Linked DNA regions of Homo sapiens: region 1 is linked to region 2. The links are contacts of gene promoters, found by promoter capture Hi-C in blood cells and fetal thymus (Javierre and others, 2016). All regions are on one chromosome and are shown on one strand. The core of a region is centred on a gene start or on the middle of the fragment in contact, and the rest is flanking DNA. Distances in the headings are between cores, read along the strand shown. Region 1 holds the start of OXCT1-AS1 (OXCT1 antisense RNA 1). Region 2 holds the start of LMBRD2 (LMBR1 domain containing 2).

Region 1 (3,973 bases), core at 562-3,061, 5.7 Mb after region 2:
AGGTTTCTGTTTGCCTGGAGGGTTCTCTCATCCGTACTTTAAACATGTGTAGAATATCTGATCTATGCAGAGTAGTGTGTTTGTTGAGGGAGACTAAGTGTAAGGCATAAATATGGTCTCTGCCATCGGGGAACTGTCATCTGGTTGAGGAGACAATATACACATCTGAAAAGTTAAACAAGTAGATAAGTGGTACAGTTCAACAGAAGCAGCAGGTGAGGATTTAAAGTGCTAAACAATAAGGGCTGTAATCCCAGCACTTTGGGAGGCCGAGGCGGGCGGATCACGAGGTCAGGAGATCGAGACCATCCCAGCTAAAACGGTGAAACCCCGTCTCTACTAAAAATACAAAAAATTAGCCGGGCGTAGTGGCGGGCGCCTGTAGTCCCAGCTACTTGGGAGGCTGAGGCAGGAGAATGGCGTGAACCCGGGAGGCGGAGCTTGCAGTGAGCCGAGATCCCGCCACTGCACTCCAGCCTGGGCGACAGAGCGAGACTCCGTCTCAAAAAAAAAAAAACAATAAGGGCACTAAGAGCCACAAGCTAGGGGAATAGTGGAAGGCAGGAGTTAGACCTATGATAATCAAGCCTGACAGGGCTAAGTTTGAACTCTGTATGAACTTTTAATGAGATATAGCAGAACCCCTTATTTGCATCTCGTCCCTCTAAGATGAGGTTTGCTGAGCTTCGGAAATGGTTTAATGATATACTCAAGATGGAAAAGACTTGAAGTGAGTAAATTACAGTTGGGCAAATCAGTAACTGTCAAAAGAAGGAACGTTCCTGACCTCGGCCCAAGGGTATCGCTGTGCTCTGGTTTGTATTAGCTTCAGCACCGCTGCAATCTCACTGAAGGTCAAGTTCCCTTTTAATAATGCTTTATATATCCAAGTCTATCTGCAGTTATAAAAATGCTTCCTAAGAGGCATTTAAGAGTAAAATGGTCCAGTTCTGAACCATTCCCTAGCACCTACCGAAGGAGCTCAGTGGCTCCTCTGTGTTCTCAGCGGTCAGGGATTGGATGCAGGAAAGAGCAATGGGGCCAGGCAGGCACGCTTCAGGAGTAAGCACCGTGTGCATGGCACGCTGTCAAGCTCAGACCTATTACTGAATACCAAGGAAGAGGCTCCCGCGATTGAGACGGCGGGGATAAAGCCACCCTCCTGGACCTGGCGCTCTGGTCCTGTAATTCGCTCCTAGGGCTCCAGACAGGGGTGGGCTTACAAGCGAGGACAGTGCATAAGGCAAAACCACAAGTCAGTCCACGGTGGGAATGCCTCCGGATACCACTCGGTGGAGAGTCGGCAGTGGGGCACAAAAAGGATTTCAAAGGGCTCTGAAAACCGAAAGCCCCTAACCCGGATACGAGGGGCCTCGAGAGAAAGGTTTGTCCTCCCCTGCAGCCCAGGCGCGGGCCAGGGACACACCTCGGATGGTTTCCCAGCTTGGCCGGCAAGACGCCCTGGCGAGCGCTCCAGTCTACGGGGCAGCAGAGCCAAATAGGGAGGAGAGGATGGGAGCGGCATTCCACACCCGCCGCACCCGGCATCCAGCCCCGGTGAACTCGAGCAGAGCCATGGCTAACCCAGCCTCAGGTTCTGGGCCTCTAGAGGTTCCTCTGCCCAGAGATCCAACATCGGGGGCGCAAACCTACCCGCTGTTGCCTCACTCCTAAACCTCCATATACTGGCGCCCTCCTCCCCCCGTTCAGACCCTCAGAGTCCCTATCCAAGGGCGGGTGCCAGGAGGGAAGCCGACGAGCGCCAAAGGGCTCGGGAGCGCTGCCAGGAGTCCTCCCGCCCCTTCTCAGCCTCTCCGCGCGCTTCTTTATCGCGTCTCGCTCCATCAGGGAAGCGACTGCAGAACCAAGCAAAGGCGGTCATCCGAGGGGCCGGCGAGGCCAGGAACGCGTCGCCGCGTGTCCGTGACCAGGGCACCGCGCCACGGATGCCAGATCCCAGGCTGGAGAGAGCGGGTAGGGGCAGAGAAGAAAACGCGGGCACCACTCAGGGTTTGGTCCACGTTCTTCCTGCCCATGGCCTTCCTCTTCCCCCGCACTTTACCTTGTACCAGGTTGCCCCAGATCCGCGGGCAGAGGCGCAGAGCCGAAGCCCGGAGGAGAGGAGTTTGAGAGCCGCCATCTTCGGGCGGTGAGGCAGGAGGAGGCTGCGGGTTGGAGCGCGCGTTTGAGCGTCGGTGCGCGACTGCGAAGGAAACCCGGGCGGGCTGGAGGCTCGACAGCGCGTCGATGACGTCCTCCCGGCCTTTCGAGCCGCACGCCACCGGCGCGCTGCTGGCTGCTGCTTTTAAAAGAAGTGAGGCTGGGCGGGGCCCCGGCGGGGAGAAGAGGCTCTGTGCAGCCGGGGCGGATCGCGGGGAAGTTCCTCTCAGCGCCTCAGGTGTCTGGGCGTGTGCAGCTGTGTTGGCGCACACTTGCCGCTACAGCCCTTCTGTCAGCCCTTTAGCTTCGATGGGGCGCTGGTGGCCGCCTCCCCCTAGGTTGTGGATGAGTCTTGGCCTAGGGTTCAGGGCCCTCCGGCCGCGGGAGGATCTCCCGCCAAGCTTGTTGCTTTTCCAAGTTAGTGCCTGGCGTGTGTGTGGGCTGCATAGGGGCACCCCTCGAGGCCCCCTTCTCTTCTCCCGCCTGGACTGCGTTCACGTTTCTAACATTTCTCAGCCCCTTCTCCCCACATCTGGCCTTGGCTTACATAGAGTAAGTTTGCTGTGAGCACTTGCCTCGAACTGTCGGTCAAGAGGTGTGAGCAACAAGGCTTGCAGAGGAACAAGATTAAGACTGGACCTCTGTGACCTGAGTTTAGCACACCTTTTCTTCCCCATCATCCAAGTTTGCGAATTTCGGGCTCTTTCTCGCACTGGAGTCCCAGCAACCCCAGAGATTACTAAAGATGCAACCATAAAAGCAGTATATTGCTTTAACCTTAGGCAAGTTAGATAACTTCCCTAAGCCTCAGTGTCCTCATCTGCAAATTAGGATTGCTTGTGATACAACGTCATAACGTTTCTATGAGTTAATTCATGCAAAGTTTATGGCCTTATTATGAGGAGTCAATAAATGTTAGGCATTATTATAAGTTTATTCCATTGTAGCAGTTCATTGACATGGCACGTACATATTCGCCAAGCCTTGTCTTTTGACCAACTCCTTGAGGACATGAGCCACGACTGATTTCTCCAGAACTGTCTTTGCACTTAGCAGAGTGGAAAGACCAAGTGGAAGCTCAATAGCATTTTATTTGATTAAGGCCTGACCAAGTTCTGAGAATGTGATGTTAGTTTTGAACCAAAGCAAAGCACACAAAAATTAAATGAGATCTTAGCTTCCTTAGCAAATACAGTAAGGTAATGAACAGTGAAGATGCAGTTCAAAGTTTGTCCATAAAATCATTTGCCCTTTCATGGTATTCTTTTAACTCTGAACTTTTTTTTTTCCTGTAAATATTATAATTTTAGTCAAAATCAGTTAAGGAGTAAGATACCAAGTTAGACTATTCAATTACACTGGAGAAATTAACTTATTGCTAGTTGGTATTTCAACACATTTTAAGAAGTTGGATTGGGGGGAAATTCAAGTACTGTAACTAAAGTCCCATAACTAGTGATAATTTAGCATATAGCAGCTGTTGTACCTTTAACTTACACAATGTGAAAAAAACTAGCATTCCAATTGAGTCTGCTTTTCCACTTTTGCCCATTGCGATTGGGTCTGCTTTTCCACTTTTGCCCTTCCACAGGGCACATGAAATGGAAAAACTGCATTGGCAACTTTGCCGGTGGTCATATGACTGACTCTTGGCTGGTCTCACTTTGTTGCTCTTGGCTGAGGAAGACACATTTTAAATGTTGCATGCTATGTGACTAAGTCTCCTGAGAAAATCACCCTAATTACTGTATGGTCAAAACACACTGTACTGTATTTTTGATGACTGTGACTTCATTTTATACTTTTTAAATAA
Region 2 (4,162 bases), core at 438-2,937:
TCCCTGAAGTCCTAGAGAGGATCTTGTGTTCACTAATTCAGATGTTGCAAGTATTCTAGTTCCCAGGTAACTCCTAGTAAAACCAAGACTGAACAAAGATATTTCTCATCTTTAAATTTAGAATCATCTCATCGATTAAACCTTCCTATCTATGAGATCTATATCTGAAGTGGGCTCTCCCAATTATTTTACATCTCAAAACTGTTTATTCTCATTATGGCATCTTAAATATTTTTGTTTATTCTTTCTCCTCCATTAGCTTACAGGCTCTCTCTGTTTTGTTCCCTTTCCTGAAGGAAACTATAATTTTTTGTGTCAAAAATATTTTCTCCTATGAGTTGCAATCTTCAGGGAAAGGACGTAGCTTCAAACAAAGGCAAATGCTTTCTCCTTAGCCAAAGTAACATAAAGGTCACTTTCTGTAAAACATCAGGATATTGCATTTTAAAATGCTTTCCATATAACATTAGTTTGATGAACGGCTTAGCCTAGGATTCTGCACCTAGTTCCAATCAAAACCAAGTTGTGAACAGATCCCTTCTTTACACCAATCTCATCTTTCAAGAACGAGCTAAAGGTTCATGAATTCCTTCCTCAAGAGGCAGTTACTTTTCAAGCTAAGGACCAAGCTTGAAACAAGCATATACCTGCACAAGGGAGGTTTAATTTCACTACAGAGCGAATCATTTTTTCAAGGAAACCAGAGGGTGTGTCATACAGCATCACTGAATATTCTAATATGCGATGAAGCTGTTATGCTTCCTTATGAACTTTATAAATCTTCATTTTTATGAGGCTTAGAATTCATCCCCCTTCCCTCTTCCACTGTTTTCCCGGGGTCACAGTTGTAGTATAGTTTGCCCAATGGATTTCGCATGGTCATTGTACCTGGAATATGTCACGCTCCCTACTCTTACTGCCCCCAAACTCTTCTCAGCAGAGATAGGCTGAAAGCAGCTCGCTTTTAGGCGGCGACGCAAACACACGTAGCCAGCTGAGCGACAGCAAGCAACCAAATGGCTTTGCTGGAGGCCCCCTGCGTGCACGGGTAAAGCTCGTTGCAAAATACAGTCCTTTCATTTATTCCCATGTTGCTATTTATGAGACCTGTCAAGGCTGCAAGGGCATGCGCAGCCTTCCCACCACACAGGACCCGCTGGGGTCTCCGGCTCCCCTAAAATTAAACCATTGTCTCTCGTTCCAACGGCGTGTTTAGCTGTTGTGCGTTATTTTACAGATAAAGGAAGGATCCCGTCCACAGACCCAATTCTTAGGGCCGCCTTCTCCCCGACGGAGGAAGAAGCTTCCTGGCAAAAGGACGAACAGGTGCGACGCCAGCAGTTCGCAGCCTCTCACCTGGCCGGCGGGCTGGGCTACTGTCACCACTCAGCAGCCAAGGACTTGGGCCCCGCAGCGGCGGCCACTCGGGGTCTGCCGGGTCCCCTCTCTTTCCGCCTGCTCTCGGCCCCGGACCCCAGACTCAAAAGCGCCTCACGCGTTCCGCCTTAGGCTCACCGTCCGATCTCGCCAGACAGCGTCTGGACGGGACCGGGAAACGGCGGCCGCCACAGCTGTCCAGGTTCTGGGATCCACGCTCAGAGACGACAGCGCTGGCGATCACCAGAAGGCCTGCGGGCTCCCGAGAAAGGAAAATCCGTCTACAGTCCAGCGGCTGACATTTCCCAGTCAGCCGTAGCGCCGCCCGCTTCCGCCTCCCCGCCTACCCCGTGGGCCGACCAGTCCCGCTCCCGCGGGGGGTTGTGGGTATCTCGAAGGCGGGTAAAGCTGCAAGGGAAGGAAGTAAGGGCGAGCCCGTCGGACTACGAAGCGGGACGGAAACTACAATTCCCAGCAGGCCTTGGGCCTCAGTGCGGCCGCGAAGCAGAGCGGGCTGTAGAGCCTTGCGCGCGCAGTGGGGATGGAACGTTGCTAGGCTTAGCGGGTCTGGCTGCTGGGGGCCCGAGCAGCACGCTCGGAGCCGCCGCGCGCCAAAGCGGGAATCTGGGAGGCGAGCAGCTCTGCAGTTAATGCACGTATTTTAAACTCCCGGGCCTGCGGACGCTATGCACAGGTAAACGGATTGCAAAAAGGGGAAGAGCATGAAATGGACCCTCTTAATAATTCTTTTAGGCCGCGAATATCGCTACTGGCTAATATTGTTAGTAATGCTGTTAAGTGAATGGTTGCTTAGCCCCTTCTTGGGGAAAGTGTGAATGGATGGATGCCTTAGTGCGGGGATCAGCGTGTGGTTTTATTTGGCTTCCCTAATTGGGCTTTTCTGCCACCGTTTTCAATCAGTGTATGATTGCCCTGTCTCTCTCCTTGTCTGTTCCCTCCACTGGGAGAAATTCTTGAGGCCTTCTGCAGGATCGTAAGTCAAAAAGCCTTCTCGATTTGTTCTTTTCATTTCTTCGTTTTCTTGGTAACTCGCCGCAGGCACATAAAAAATGCGATTCTGTTAGCTGCTGTGAAGGTTTCCTACAATGCATAAACTGCAGCTTCTTTAATTGCCTTGAAATTATTTATGGGTGTGTTTTCGAAAGGAACCGGGGGTATTGTGCACTTCTGCAGGAAGCACCTCCAGGAGATTCCAGACCTGAGTAGCAACGTTGCCACCAGCTTCACGTGGGGATGGGATTCCAGCAAGACTTCTGAACTGCTGTCAGGCATGGGGGTCTCCGCCCTGGAGAAAGAGGAGCCCGACAGTGAGAACATCCCCCAGGAACTGCTCTCAAACCTGGGCCACCCGGAGAGCCCCCCACGGAAACGGCTGAAGAGCAAAGGGAGTGACAAAGACTTTGTGATTGTCCGCAGGCCTAAGCTAAATCGAGAGAACTTTCCAGGTAAGGACATGAGGGTAAAAATGTCAGTTATGCAAAGGGTGGATTTAGCTATGTTGTTGGGAAACCTTTGTTCAGAGATCTTTAGCATGGGTTCCTTTTAAGATTGCCTAATTCTGAAGCTATTTTTCAACAAAATAGGGCAAGTCGTCAAGTATGCAGGAATCTTGGTAGATATATATATATATATATATATATATATATGTATGTTCTGGTGCATAATCACCTTGAAAATTTTAACCCATGAGAAGACATTCCTGCCTTTTTCCTTAGAAGGGAATCTGCCTGCCTCAAGGCCAGCTCAGTTTCACCGTTTAACAGAAACATAAACAGTGGTCTTCTTGTAGGATTCCTTTTGCTTTGTACCCCTGAGTGATCTTTTTGCCTTAATCACTTTAGTTATTTATCAGTGGACTGCGAAGTGAACGTTCACCTAAGTGGGGGAGACATCTCCCCAGGCCCACTCCCACCCCCATATTGGCTTCTCCTGGTATGTTCTGTCTCCATTACTGCTGACACTATCTGTTTAATCACCCAACCCGAAAACCTGAGAGTCAGTCAGCTTCCCACCGCCCCCCAACATCCAGTCATTCATCGCATCTTTCCCTCTTCTCTGGTAACTATTTCTCAAGTTCTCGTCGTCTCTTGCCTGAACTATTGGAGTGGATTCATAATTCCAACCTTCTTCTCCCCAGATCTATCCCCCGAACTAGAATGGATTGACTGAAATGTAGAACTTACTGTATCTTCCCTCCTTAATAGCTCCCCATCCCCTAGTTCCTCAAGCAGGCGAACGAGTGCCTCCCAGAGTGAACCAGAACCCTGGAGTATGCAAAAGCCATAGGATAAACAGGGCATTGACCTGGGGTTATCAGTTTTTCTTACTAGTAAGCTATTTAAAACAGTAATACAGCAAATATTTGCTGAGCACATACCATGTGCTAGGCCGTGTTCCAGGTGCTGGAGATAGAGGAGTGGGCACAACAAACATTTCTGCTCTCAGGGAGCATCCATTCTAGTGAGAGAATACAATAAACACAATAACTATTTTTATATAGTATGTTAGAAGGTGATAAGAGCTATGGCTAAAAACAAAAATAGAACAAGCCAAGAGGGAATGCAGGTCTTGGGGTGGGAAGATAGAGTGCACTTTTAAACCAGGTATTGAGAGAAAGCCTCAATTGGACAGTGACCTTTAAGCAAAGACATAAAGGAGGCAAGGAGTGTGCCATGCAAATATCTTGGAGAAAAGAGCTCCAAGCAGAAGGAACAGCCACTGCAAAGACCCTGGTGCATAAATGTGACGTATTTGTTCCAGGAAC

What was found. The method cuts DNA at HindIII sites, captures the fragments that hold promoters and counts their contacts. A CHiCAGO score of 5 or more calls a contact.
Region 1: a contact is called between the fragment with the promoter of OXCT1-AS1 here and the fragment with the promoter of LMBRD2 in region 2, in 1 of 17 cell types (non-activated CD4 T cells). The highest score is 7.2, in non-activated CD4 T cells.

The regions. Positions count from the first base shown.
Region 1 is chr5:41,868,219-41,872,191 of GRCh38, forward strand. OXCT1-AS1 (OXCT1 antisense RNA 1) reads left to right here and starts at 1,812. Exons shown (of 3, transcript NR_046635.1): 1 at 1,812-1,974; 2 at 2,073-2,164; 3 at 2,548-3,973. OXCT1 (3-oxoacid CoA-transferase 1) reads right to left here and starts at 2,207. Exons shown (of 17, transcript NM_000436.4): 1 at 2,063-2,207. The coding sequence starts at 2,140. It overlaps LOC102723752 (a long non-coding RNA gene), which reads left to right. Exons shown (of 3, transcript XR_925956.4): 1 at 1-1,384. RefSeq lists enhancers at 1,844-1,923, 2,754-2,803. The HindIII fragment of the contact is 3,584 bases long and covers 1-2,559 here.
Region 2 is chr5:36,150,200-36,154,361 of GRCh38, forward strand. It overlaps LMBRD2 (LMBR1 domain containing 2), which reads right to left and starts at 1,688. Exons shown (of 18, transcript NM_001007527.2): 1 at 1,357-1,688. It overlaps SKP2 (S-phase kinase associated protein 2), which reads left to right and starts at 1,912. Exons shown (of 10, transcript NM_005983.4): 1 at 1,912-2,071; 2 at 2,572-2,843. The coding sequence starts at 2,064. RefSeq lists silencers at 959-1,018, 1,619-1,758 and enhancers at 972-1,955, 2,029-2,218. The HindIII fragment of the contact is 3,342 bases long and covers 1,302-4,162 here.